3 separate regions of the Homo sapiens genome follow, and regions 2 and 3 are each linked to region 1. The links are contacts of gene promoters, found by promoter capture Hi-C in blood cells and fetal thymus (Javierre and others, 2016). All regions are on one chromosome and are shown on one strand. The core of a region is centred on a gene start or on the middle of the fragment in contact, and the rest is flanking DNA. Distances in the headings are between cores, read along the strand shown. Region 1 holds the start of TMEM151B (transmembrane protein 151B). Region 2 has its middle 22 kb from the start of SCIRT. Region 3 overlaps MRPL14 (mitochondrial ribosomal protein L14).

Region 1 (4,479 bases), core at 1,377-3,876:
TGGGACGCTGCTGCTCAGGTGGGCAGGGAGAGGGGCCAAGATGAGTGGGAAGTGAGAGCAGGCAGGACCCAGCACAGAGATGGATACGGGGATGGAGGGGCAGAGGCCAGCACCAGAGATAACAGGCAGAGAGAAACAGGGATATGGAGAGAAAAGGTGAGACCAAGATGGGAGCCAGGGGCCAGAGGTAGAAACAGAAGTGACACAGAGCAAGCCAGAGGACAGGAAAGGGGACCGGAATGCCAGTACAGGAGAGTGCAGAGAGAGACACCCCAAGAGGCAGAGAAGGATCAGAGCCAGAGATAGAGGCCCAGGCAGCAAACACAGATGGATAGGATGGTACCCAGAGAGCATCCGAAGACAAACACAAAAATGGCAATGAAACAGAAGATGTGGACAGGGAAGACAGGGGAGGACAGACAGACAGGCATCAGCGAAGGAAGGTCCCCAGCCCAGACCCCTTCCAGGTCCTCTAGAAAAGGGGGAGGGACCCACTGACATCACTTCCCCACTTAACAAGTGGGGCCCTCACTTCCAGATTTTTTTCAGTCCTAGGTTCTAGAGGAGCTACTCCCCTCTGACCCATCCACCTCCCTAACCCTCACAATTAGCCTAACACGTCCTTTGGATAAGGGCCTCCAGAGAACCCCAGGCCCAGTCTCATTCCCCATGTTCTGGACCCTGGTTCCCCTGTGAGTCTCCCTCCTGCACCCTGACATCCTTCCCTTTGTCCTAGGATGGGAGGGAGGGGGCTGGGGTCCCTGAGCGGCAGGCAGTCCAGGAGGAGGTATCCAGAAGGGCAGAGGCATGTGGCTGAGGAGAGGACAGGCATAGGGGATGTGGGACTGGGGTAGCGAGGACAACGTTTGAAGCCCAGCAATTTATCAAGAGAAAATTATTTTTGGTACTCTCCTGGAGCCTGTCTGTTAAAGCTCCTGGCACATTCTGTCCCAGGGTTGGCCCAGGAGTTGTTTACATGTCTGGCTCCCCACTACACTGGGTACTCCTGAGGGCCCATGCTTCATTCTCTTTGCATCCTAGGTGCCTACCATGGTGCTGGCCCCCAGCAGCCACATCCTAATTGAGTGTTGAGTTTAATTTCTTGTAGTGGCCTCTGTTTTCCCACCCCTCCTCTGTGCTGTCTAGCTTTAGGAACCCATCCCCCACCACACACACACACACACACACACACACAACCTCCTGCTGGGATCCTGACTTACCCCCTCAATTCCTCAGGCCTGACCTAGAGGCCAGCCAGGAAAGAGAGGAAAAGAGTGGAAAAGAAGGGTACAGTAATAGGCATCGGTCCCTGGATCTAGAAGTATGGATAGTTAGGCGAGCTAGGAAATAGCACACAGTACATGTGGACAAGGAGATTAGGGTACATGTGCCTTTCGGGGAGCCTTGTCCTTAGGAGGTATGAACATACGGGCCCCTTCGTGTGCCTACCTGGTTATGTGCTTGTCCCCATGTGGGTACCTCTGAAAGGGGCTTTACCTGCAGGCCCATCCCCGCTTGTGTGCCTCTGCCCTAGTACAGGGTGCATGCGTGTGCACAAGTGTGCATGGGAGGCTGGAGTGGGGGTGCTCCTGGTACTTTCCTCCGTCTCTTTGTCTTCAGGTTCAGAGGACTGAGTACTAGGGACCCCAACTAGGGATATGAGGAAGCAGCAGGAGCCTCGTGAGAGAGAGGTGCACACCCCCCCCCACACACACACACACACACTCCCAATGACCACAGGCGGGACCCCCCGTACACATCTGACCTCCTTAGGGTCCCAGATCAGGTACCACCACCACTTCCCCATGGTACCCTCCTCGTTCTGTAGCCCGTACAAGCCGCCCTTCCTGGCCTTCAAGGTAGCATCCTCCTCTGTGAGACAGGATCCCCGCCACCGTCCCCACCCCGGTAGAGCATAGCCCCCACTCTCATAAGCCCAGGATCCGCGAGGCTCCGCCCCTAGGCCCCTCCCCCTGCCCGGGACCCCTGAGCCCCGCCCCCGGCGCGGCCCCTTCCCCGGCACCGCGGACAGCTCCGGCCGCCGGGTGGGGGCGGCGGCGCGGACTGCGGCTGCAGCGGCCGGCTCGGGGTGCGGGGCGCCGGCCGCGCTGCGGCGGAACCAGCGGGGGACGCGTGCGATGGGGGATGGGGGGCCAGGCTGCGGCCGCGCCCGGGGAAGGGGCGCCCTAGACTCTCACCTCCTCTCGGGCGGGGCCCTCGTCCGCCGCCGCCGCTGCCGCCGCCGCCGTGAGCTCCTCCGAGACCCCGGGGCCGCCACCGCCGCCGCCGCCGCCGGCGGCGCTCTCTCCCGCGGCCGAGCCAGGGGGGGACATGGCGTAGAGGGGGCGCGTCGAGCTCAGGACCTCCCGGGGGGCTGCCAGGGGCCGGGGGCATCCTGCGCGGGCCCTGGGGAGAGGACGGGAGGGGGCGGGGCCCTCGCTGCTCCCCACCCCCCGCCGGGGGAGGGGGCCCGGAAAGGGCACCGGGAGTAAGGGGCTGGGGGCTGAGGGTGGGAGGCAGGCTGGGGGGCCGGGCCGGGGGGGGCCGGGGCCGGGGGCGGGTGTCACCTTGAGGCCCTCGCGGCGCCGCTCCGCCTCCCGCCCGCTCCCGCCGCCGCCTTTTGTCTGAGCCGAGCTGGAGCCAGCGCGCCCCCCCTTTCCTGCCAGCGCAGCCGAGCCCCGCCCCCAGCCCCCCAAACTCCGCCTTCCCAAGCCTACCTAATAACCACCCCCCGAAGGGGTAAAGCAACAGGGACTCCCCACACCTCTTCCCCGCTCCCAGCCCTGCTCACTGCACCTCCCTCCCGCGCTCCTATCCTGGGAGAATCTGTGCCGCAACCCCTCTCCATCTGTTCTCCGTGGACTCGGTGCCCGAGGTTCAACCAACAGCACCCCCCCACACACACACACATCTCTGGTTCCCCCAAGTTCCCAGGGCAGAGGAGTGGGGAGAGGAAATTGATTCTTGGAACCCTAGGGAAGATCCTTACTCCCAGTTTCGTGGTGAAGGGTTAAGGCAGAAGCTAGACTTCCAGAGGAATGGAATAGGGGGAAAGGGAAGAGATTGAAGCTAGATGTGGGAAAGGACTAACAGAGGGCAGAGGGGAGGGCATTGGAACCGGCCTTCACTGAACCATCTTTCTTCCCTAAAAGAACAGCTCCAGAGAAGCAGTGAAGTGTGTGCAATACCCTAGGCTGGAGGGCAGGAAACCTGAGTTCTAATTCTGAATTCTGTATCTGTCATTAAGGAGTTATGTGACCTTGGGCAAGTGCCTTCCTGTCTCTGAGCCTTAATTTCTTCATCTGTGCAGTGAGGAAGTTGACTGGACAATTTCTAAGGCTCTGACTTGTAGGTGTAGGAAGCAAGCCAGGCTGAGCCACTGCAGGCAGCCTATCCTTTCAGGCCATCCACCCCACACTGCTTTTCCCTGTATCCCCTGGCACAGCAGGAAGGACCCTGACATTTATTCATTCATTCATTTCTGGATGTCTCCATTCAGTAAACAGGTGTTGGGTACCTATTGTGTGCCCAGTACAGAAATGAAACACAGTTTCCTTCCTGCAAGGAGCACAAAGTCTAATGGGGAGAAAAGAACATGAAAAACAACCATTATGAAGAATATAATAAAAGCCATGCATGATCAATCTTGTGCATACACAGTCACTGTGGAATCCTACTATGTGTCATTAGAGTCTTTGACATACAGTAACTGTTCTCCCCAATTACTCACAGGGAACCAAGGCAGAGGGAGAGTGAATGGCTTACTCAAGGTCACCTGCTAGCACTCACAGAGCTAGTCCTAGAATTCAGATCTTTCCCACTCAAAATCTATGGGGAATATTTGTGGGTAGGAAGTTAGTTTGGGGCAAAGCCTCGATGTCTGATTTTGGGGGATAGGGTACAAACACACTGATCTGCCCAGGATGTTCCTTCCCCTTGTTGGGGACAGGAGAGCCACTGCTCCCACCCCTCTAGTCCCACTCCTGGCCCTGCCTTCATTTTACTACTCTTCCCTTTCCAGGTGAGGTGAAGGTGGCTCTCTGTCCACCTATTGCTTAGAGCTATCCAGCCTGCATGGTCCTCTCCAGGTTGATGGGTCCATTCTCCCTGCCCAGAGGAAGGCGGCTGTCCAGAAGAGGCGGGGGTCTGGTTCACTCCCTTGGCAGAGGCAGAATCTCACTTGGTGGTTCATTCCAGCATCTCCTGCCCATGCTTTTTGGGAAGCTGGCCTCACAGCTAACTCCAGCCCCTCTTGTTCCAGTTTCAACCCCTTCCCCCACAGAGAGCAGAGCCCCTAACCTTGGCCTTTCCAAACCCACAGAGGATCCTTTCGTGCTCCCCATTTAGGCACCATAATCTTCCTCTTGACACCCACCCCCACTGCCTTCCTGTCTCCACTTCAAAGGGCTTTGGAGGAGGGACAGTTTAGCTCTTTTTGGCCAATGCTAGAGCTCCCAAGAGACAAAAGGCTACCCCTGC
Region 2 (4,479 bases), core at 847-3,346, 170 kb after region 1:
ACCACTGTGCCCGGCCCCACACACATTATTTATGTAAAATCACTTAACAACGTTATTTCCTACAAATACAGAAAAATTTATGGGACTGGGTGCAGTGGCTCACACCTATAATCCCAGCACTTTGGGAGGCTGAGGTGGGTGGTCACTCGAGACCAGGAGTTCGAGACCAGCCTGGCCAACATGGTGAAACCCCGTCTCTACTAAAAATACAAAAATTAGCTGGGCCTGGTGGTGTGCACCTGTAATCCCAGCCACTTGGGAGGCTGAGCATGAAGATCACCTGAACCTGGGAGGCAGAGGTTGTGGTGAGCTGTGATATCACACCACTACATTCCCTGCACTCCAGCCTGGGCACCAGAGCAAGATACCCTGTCTCAAAAAAAAAAAAAAAAAAAGGCAAAAAAGCACAAGAATGATACCCAAGACAGTGCTAATAGTGGGAGTTCCTTTGGGGAGGAGGGAGGTAGAAGGTTCCTGGTCAAAGGTGACACAGCTCTGTAGTGCTTTAATTTTTTAATAAAGAGACTATATCCCTCTATTATTTGTGTACTTAAAATCACAAATAATTTTAAAATGCAATGCACATACCATGTGTATGGGGGAATGAGGGCAAGAGGAAGGGATTCTGAAGGAGGTGGTGTGGGGTAGAGCTTTTATATCAGACAAGCCTGTATTCCAGTCCTGACCTTGACAATTACCTGCCAGTGACTTCAGGCAAGTCACCTTACTCTCTGAGTCTCAGCCTCCTCATTTGAGAAGTCAGGATGACAATGTCTGCCTTCCAGGGCTCTTGTGTGGATATGGAGTAGGCCGTAGAATTCTTGGCACATAGTAGGTGCTCAGCGTATCAATCATAGCCATTATTGTTATTTCAAATTTCAGCCAAAAATAATCACTTGAGCTCTTAGTAGGTGACAGTTGGATTAAGGACATTGGGACTGTATCTGGTTCAATCAGGGATGACTTCCTGGGGGAGGAGGGGCTTGAGCTACTTAAATATATGTGGGAAGTGGGGCAGCATTGAGTTAGAGAGAGGGCTGTGTGCAGAGGCCAGGGAGGGATTATGCCTGTGTGCCTATTATTAGTAATGATATTACTTATTTCCATATTATAGACAAAGAGGGAGAGTCCAAGTAACTTGTCCACAGACACATAGCTAGTAAGTGTAGGGTGTTCACATGGAAGGGATGGGCAGAGGAAGAGAAATGGGAAAATGCAGGAAACTGGGATAGTTCTGTGGGAGGAGAAGGGAGAAAAAGAATGGGCTTTGTAATCAGAAAGGCTCCTGAAGAGAGGGATGTGGGGGATTTAACAGGCCAGCCATTGCCCTTTACTTAAAAAAAAAAATGCCCAGGGGAGATGTAGGACCTTAAGGTCTTACCTTTGCAAGACGCTCTTGACAGAGGCCACTGGCTCTCCATCTCCCTTGGGCCCAAGCAGAAAGGATTGGGGCCCCTCCCCACAGGAAGGGGTGCTAGGCTGACTAGTCCTAGGAGGCTGGGCGTCTTTTCCCCAGGAACCCTCCAAGAACTGGGTGGGTTGAGAGCTGGCTGGCAGTACTGTGCCAAATGAAGTCGCTGCATGCCCTGTAACCTGGCAATTCCGCTTCTTAGGTTTTCAGGCCGAGCCGTAACGGTTCCTGTCAAGGACGGTCATGGCAGGGTTGCTGGGGTGTTGGAGGGAACTTGGGTGCCTGTCGCCCTCAGAGTGGGTAAATAAATGTGGAAGGTGCCCACCAGAAACTAAATGTGCTCACAGCAACATGAATGAGGTTTAAAAATACAGTGCTGAGCGAAAACAATTAAGAAATATATCTATAATGTGTGTGTGTGTTTTTTATATATATATATATATATATATATATATATATTACTAATTGTGAAACTAAAAAATACATGCACTTGTTTTGCAAGGACACATACAAATGGTTGGCTATGGGTTAGGATGAGGAATGAGAATAAAAATGAGATAAATGCAGAGTGTGGTGAAATCCAGTTCCTCTGCAGGTGGAAAGGGTGGCCAAGCGGTCAACCCACATTTCTGTGCACATTGTGCCATCTAGTGGGCAAAGGGGCGTTCAGCTGCCCTGGTCCTGGAGCTGGTGCAACTATGGCACCATGACATCCTGGGCAGGTGCTGCCTCAGCTGGGCCCCCAGAGCAGAGGTGAGAGGTGAGTGCTGCCTGTCAAGTGGGGGCCAGGCACAGCCTGCTGTAGGCCTGGCCAGTGGGGCTGGTAGCCATTTCTGTTGCAGCAGGGAGGAGGGTTCAGACAGGCCTGCCTGCCTCCAGGAGCTGTCTGATGTCAGGGCTGGCTCTTCACCGCCTGCTATGGCAGGCAGGCAGGTGGTTCCTGAGAAGGGAGTGGCTGAGACTCTGATGCCAGATTTTCACATGTAGCCCTCCCTTCTGGCAGGAAAGAGAGCATCTGGCAGGATCATTGTGAAAGCAAAGAGGAGAGAGGAGAGCAGGTAGAGACACTCAGAGTCTAGAGAGAGCAATGACTACCTTGAGGTGGAGTACGGAGGACAGACCCTGGCACCAGACTGCCAGGGTTCACATCCCTTGGGCAAGTCCCCTGTGCATCAGTTTCCCCTCCTTGGAATGTAATAGTACGTACCTTGTAGGGTTGAAGTGAGTCAAAATAAGGCACTTAAAACAGGTCCCCTTTCCGGGTCAGGGCTGTGTAAGTGTTGTCCACTCTCAGTATCTGAGGTTCACCCAACTCCTGTAAAGCCAGCACCCTGCTCTCATCCTTCATGAGAGTCATGGGGCATGAACAGAATGCCCTGGGCTGATGGGGGTCACTGCAGCAGGGCCTGGGGCTATAGGCTAGGAAGGGACTCCAGCCATGGACCCAGGCCAAACTGTGGAGGGAGGTGGGGTGAAGCAGGGCGGGGCCTGGGGCTGGGGACACTGCATTCTTTTTTTGTTTTTTGAGACGGAGTTTCGCTCTCGTCACCCAGATTGGAGTGCAATGGCGCCATCTCGGGTTCAAGCGATTCTCCTGCCTCAGCCTCCCAAGTAGCTGGGATTACGGGCTCCTCCCACCACGCCCAGCTAATTTTTTGTATTTTTAGTAGAGACAGGGTTTCACCATGCTGGCCAGGCTGGTCTCGAACTCCTGACCTCAGGTGATCCGCCAACCTTGGCCTCCCAAAGTACTGGGATTTTACAGGCATGAGCCACCACGCCCAGCTGGACACCCCATTCTTGGGGTCTGTAAAAATACTTTCTTGGCCGGGTGTGGTAGCTCATTCCTGTAATCCTAGCACTTTGGGAGGCTAAGGAGGGTGGGTCACCTGAGATCAGGAGTTCGAGACCAGCTGGCCAACATGGTGAAAACCTGTCTCTACTAAAAATACAAAAATTAGCTGGGTGTGGTGGCACACGCCTGTAGTTTCAGCTACTCAGGAGGCTGAGGCAGGAAAATCGCTTGAACTCGGGAGGCAGAGGTTGCAGTGAGCCAAGATCGCACCATTGCACTCCAGCCTGGGCAACAAGAGTGAAACTCCTTCTCAGTCTTGGTTACCTCTGGGGCTTGACGGGCCCTGTCCTGCCCCACCTCTCTCTACAGCCTCTGGCCATTTATTTTAGCTGCCCCTCCCCACACACCAGCCTCTCCAGGCCCCTGCATCACAGTCATCTTTCTAAAGCACAGTACAGCTCAGCCTGTTGAAGAACCTGCCTTGGCTCCTCGTTGCCCAGAAATTCAATGTAGACATCCTTGGTAGGCATTCAGGGTCCCTTCTGGTCTGGCCCACCCTGCCTTCCACGCCCATCTCCCGCCAGTTCTACTCTCAGCAACTCCATTGCCTCTCAGCTCCCACCAGGCCTCATGTTCCACATCCCTGGCCTTGCTCAAGTTATTCTCCTTGTTTTGAGCGCTCGTCCTCCCCACTTTTCCACCTGGCAAAATCCTCCTCATTCTTAGGGACCCAGTTAGTTCCTCCATGAAGACTTCCCCGGCAAACTGTGTCCCCCCACCCCAGGCTTCTGTCATAAACCACTTGTCATTAATCACTTAACAGTTATCACATTTTGTCACAGCCAGCCAGTTCCTGTTCAGTGAGTAGAGGAAAGAAAACATGGACTTTGTTACCAGACTATATGATGGAATCTCAGCTTGGCTACTCACCAGCTATGCGACCCTGGGCAAGTTACTTAACCTCTGAGCTTTGGTTTTCTCATCTACTAAATGGGGATAATGCTCATATTTAACCCGGATTCCTCACCAGGCCTGCAAAGCCTTGCCTGCCTCCTGTCTCCTGTTGCTCTCCACATCTCACCCACATCAACGTCCCTGCCCCTCCTTGAACATTCTCAGTCCTTTCTTGCGTCCCTGCCTTTGCACCTGCCCTTCTCTACCTGGAATGTTTCCTTCTCATTCCATTCTCCACCTCATTTCCAATGTCACCTCCTCAGAGAGGCCCTCTGCAACCACCTTCTCTAAATCCCCCGCCTGGTTTTGCTTCATCTTA
Region 3 (4,479 bases), core at 1,220-3,719, 150 kb after region 1:
GCCTCAGCTTCCTGAGTAGCTGGGATTACAGACATGTGCCACCACGCCTGGCTAATTTTGTATTTTTAGTAGAGACAGGGTTTCTCCATGTTAGTCAGACTGACCTCAAACTCCCGACCTCAGGTGATCTGCCCACCTCGGCCTCCCAAAGTGCTGGGATTACAGGCGTGAGCCACCGTGCCCGGCCATGAGGTTTAAATGAGATAGTAATGTAAGACACTTAGCCTGCTGTGTGACACATTGTAACCATTTGATAAGTGTTCATAAATAAAGAAACAGAAAGAGGCCAAATGACCCTTAAAGCTGCTTGACACCCAGGGCTCTCCTGTGAAATGAGCTTTGGTATAGCAGAGCAAGGCTGCAGAGTGCGGTTGGAACACTCTTGGACTGAACCTGGATCCAGTTCTGTTTCTGCCCTTGACTAATTGTGGGACTCTACACAAGTCACTTAATCTGCCTGTATATCAATTTTCTAATCTTTAAAATGATATATGACATCATGATGATGATAGCTAATAGGTAATGAGTGCCAGGCACTGTGCTAAGTGCTTTGCATGGCTTATCTAATTGAATCCTCATAACTACCTTGGGGGCAGATACTATTAGTATCCCTGTGTTACAGATGGTAAACCAAAGCTCAACAGTTTGGTTACTTGTCCAGGGTCATCTCACCAGTAAAAGTAAAGCTAGTCTCATTTGGTAGTCTGTGATTCTCTGTGTGTCAGATGTTAGTAGTTGCATACATTAGCTGCCTTCTTTTGCATTTGATTTTTCTGATCATAATTACATTTTGGCTGATGCTTCATGGGTTGTCTTAAGGAAAACATTTGGGAGTAAGTTTGGGATTTGAGGCTAAATTGTAGTTAATAAGCATTTAAAGGCCAGGTGTGGTGGGTGGCTCACACCCATAATCCCAGCACTTTGCGGGGCTGAGGCGGGAGGATTGCATGAACTCAGGAGTTCAAGGCCAGCCTGGGCAACATAGTGAGACCATCATCTCTACAAAAAAAAAAAAAAAAAAAAAAAAAACACAAAAAATTAGCCAGGCGTCCTGGTGCATGTCTGTGGTCCTGACTACTTGGGAGGCTGAGGTGGGAGGATCACCTGAGCTTGGGGAGTTCGGGACTGCAGTGAGCTGCAGTTGCACCACTACATTCCAGCATGGGTGACAGAGCAAGACTTGTCTCAAGGAAAGAAAAAAAAGTATGGAGTGTCTAGGTATTCCTGGGGAGGAGTGGATTCCCCTGCCCCACCCTAACATTCTTATTAAATAAAATCTTATCTGAGGTGGTTTGAACTTGTGCATAGCAAAGCTGTGTGTAAATACTACAGTGTAGAGGCTTTTCTCGGCAGACCTCTTGAATGGGCACCTCTGCTGCCAAACGTTTGGGTGGAAAAACAGGTGTGTTTTGCAGCTGGCTACAGGCCTTTCTGAAGCATGCTCTGAAGTGATGTTCAGGTGTTTCAGGGCACTGGCAGCCTCCATATTTGTTAGTGCTAGGGAGCAACAGGGTTGAGATTCTGAAAACTGGAGTCACAAGTCTTGGGTTGGTGTTTGCTCTTTTAGCTAACTCTTCAAGTTGGTTTCCCAAAGCCCACTTTCAGCTGTAGTATGGTGTAGGTCAGTTTTCCATGTTACAGTGTTTGGGAGACTGACCCAAATAAAGACTTTGGTCTTTGACTTGGCAAGAGCAGCCTTTGGCTTTGCTTTGCTGGCCTTGAGCTGTACAGGTGTTCTGGCCTTTACATTTGGGGGAAAGGTGATGTAGTGATAGACAACTTGGGTGGCTGCTTAGATAATTTACTTTCTTTTAGGGAGTTAAAGTGCTGGTTTCAGAAGGCATATGAATATCAAAAAGGGCAATAGTGTGCAGTTTTTCCTCTATGGAGGACTCGAGAAGAAGTCCCTGGCTGGGTTTATAACCAAGGGCTCATATTTTCCTCCTGCCTGTGGAAGTGATATAATAAGGAAGGCATTCTCCGTGCTGTTGTATTTTTTTATAGCAGAAGCTGTTGTGGGCCATTCTCCCTCTCCAACCCCAGAGTTAGAATGTGAATCAGCAAAATCGGAGCTACAGCTCTGTCTAATCATCTGTGTATCCTTTAACCACTAAGATTTATATTTTGTGACTAATGATCTTGTGCTGGAAGTGCCATCTCCCACACAAGTCCCCAAAGAAAACTGGCTTTAAGGGCTCTGACTTAGAAACCAATTTTTCCCCCTCTCGTTTTTCCTGCAGGATCTATCTTGGGATCCCATGGCTTTCTTTACTGGGCTCTGGGGCCCCTTCACCTGTGTAAGCAGAGTGCTGAGCCATCACTGTTTCAGGTAACTTTTCCCATTAAGTTCTTAAAACTGTGTCTTTGTGTAAGCTTCCTATCAGGGCTGGGTATTACGGTGACTAGAACAGGAGTAAAAACTCAGGGAGGTGGGCATGGGGTTGGGGAAAGCTAAAGTGATCAGGCTGAGCTGGCCTGGTTGGTCTGGTCACAGGATGGGGGATAGGTAAAGAGGTGATGTTGCTGTTAGAAGTGTGATGGGGAATGGCATATGGCGGAAGCTTTTACTCTTCAGTCCTTGCAAGACTCTTACAGTGAATCTGACATCTCTCAACCCTATCATTCCCCTAGAGCATTAAAATCCTTTTAAAAACGGAATTTTTTTAATTACAAAAATAATACATGCTTATTACCAAGAACTTGAGCATGATAGAAGTGTGACACCCTCCCCTCCTTGTAGATGCTAAGCCAGGAGAGCACAGGAGGCACGCTTGTTGGCAGACATGCCTCCTGGCCCCGTCATGCCCTCATCCCACAGGCATTTCCTGAGCACCGCACCTGGGGTTGGCCATACAGAGATGAAAGAGAGTTGCTTTCTGTCCTGAAAGAATTCTCACTGTCAGCCACAGGAGCAAACTTGAAAATAAGTAACTCTAAGAAAATGTGATAGAATATTATAATAGAGGATTGTACAGTGCTTTGGAAGGCGTCATATAGGAGCTGCTAGTGGAGGAAGAGGAGGAGAAAGAGTGGAGGCAGTCTTCTCAAAAGGGAGATGGGGGCAGATCCTGTCTAGGCCTCCAGGGAGAATTGGGAGGCAGGGTGTGCTTGGGGAAGTGGTTCCTGGTTCTCCTGCCCAGAGTGGTAGGATGTGTAGCCTTAGAAGGTAGGTAAATTGGGACAAGGTTGTTGACAGTGTAGATGGTGGGGAGTAGCATCACTTTTATATTCTAAAGAGAGCTCTTTGTTGGCAAAGTGAAGTGCAATGGGAACCAACTAGGACACTAATGTCACAGTCTTGGTGTAGGAGAGTGAGCTGCTAAATGAAGGAAGTTGTTGGCGGGATTGGAGAGAAAGGACATAGGTGCTTAGGGGGTGATATTAACAGGACTTGGTGGCCAGTTCATGTTGGTGGAGAGAGGTTTATGGCTTGGCTTCTGGTACTGCTGGAGAAGCCATCGTCTAGATAAGTGTAGCAGCAGGCGGAGGTTTGCAAGGGGAGGCAGTGAGATGAGTTTGGGACCTACTGAGTTTGCAGTATCTATAGAGCATGTTGTAGGGAGTTGAGGAGAGTGGAAATATATAGAACTAGAATATAGAAGAGAGGCGGGGCTGGAGATGGAATTTACTAGTTGGCAGCAATGCTAATGGGTAAGATTGCCCAGAGTAGGCATAAAAAACGAGAGAAGAGGTCCTAGGATTACCCTGCGGAAACACCAGCATCAGGTGCTAGCATCAGGAAAATAGGAATCCCACTGTAATCAGCTTGCTTAATAATACCTTGTCTGCCTTCAATAAGTACTCTCTAAAATTTTTTTTTCTAATGAGAAAAAATGTATTAAAACAGAAGATTGTTACCTTGACTTATTACCAGTTTCTGGTATGTTGTGTCAGAGAATTCCCTTAGTAAACTTACCCATATCTTCTAGTTCCCAGCAACATGTAAATAAGAAAATTAGGGGACCGGGCGCGGTGGCTCACGCCTGTAATCTCAGCCCTTTGGGAGGCCGAGGCGGGCGGATCATGAGGTCAGGAGATCGAGACCATCCTGGCTAACACGGTGAAACCCTGTCTCTACTAAAAAATACAAAAAATTAGCTGGGCATGGCAGCAGGCGCATGTATTCCTAGCTACTTGGGAGGCTGAGGCAGGAGAATGGTGTGAACCCGGGAGGTGGAGCTTGCAGTGAGCTGAGATGGCGCCACCGCACTCTAGCCTGGGCGACAGAGCGAGACTCCGTCTCAAAAAAAAAGAAAATTAGGGAATGGTGTATTCTGGGGAAGCAGGTTTTTCAGGATAGGCAGTGGGTGAGGCCTAGCCCATAAGGGATTCCTTTAAGTCCTTAGAGTCCTTTTGGAAAGCAAAGGCTTTAAGTTATGGCTGCTGTGAAGTTCATTGTCACAGAAAAATTGGGTTCTCTTTAAAACCCATCCAAATTGAGACCTTGACACAACAGCAGAAGCTCTCAATTGTGAGGAA

The links. Contacts are between HindIII fragments. The CHiCAGO score rates a contact against its expected background, and 5 or more counts as called.
Region 2: a contact is called between a fragment that was not itself captured here and the fragment with the promoter of TMEM151B in region 1, in 7 of 17 cell types (naive B cells, M2 macrophages, megakaryocytes and 4 more). The highest score is 7.3, in naive B cells.
Region 3: a contact is called between a fragment that was not itself captured here and the fragment with the promoter of TMEM151B in region 1, in 1 of 17 cell types (naive B cells). The highest score is 5.3, in naive B cells.

The regions. Positions count from the first base shown.
Region 1 is chr6:44,268,597-44,273,075 of GRCh38, reverse strand. TMEM151B (transmembrane protein 151B) reads right to left here and starts at 2,626. Exons shown (of 3, transcript NM_001137560.2): 1 at 2,199-2,626; 2 at 1-10. The coding sequence starts at 2,333. The HindIII fragment of the contact is 13,529 bases long and covers 1-4,479 here.
Region 2 is chr6:44,094,476-44,098,954 of GRCh38, reverse strand. No RefSeq gene overlaps it. Among named protein-coding and RNA genes, the nearest start is that of SCIRT, 22 kb to the right of the region's middle. RefSeq lists silencers at 1,962-2,131, 1,909-2,203. The HindIII fragment of the contact is 6,139 bases long and covers 1-4,479 here.
Region 3 is chr6:44,114,391-44,118,869 of GRCh38, reverse strand. It overlaps MRPL14 (mitochondrial ribosomal protein L14), which reads left to right. Exons shown (of 3, transcript NM_032111.4): 2 at 2,241-2,329. The coding sequence starts at 2,259. Among named protein-coding and RNA genes, the nearest start is that of MRPL14, 11 kb to the left of the region's middle. RefSeq lists an enhancer at 1,495-1,664. The HindIII fragment of the contact is 188 bases long and covers 2,376-2,563 here.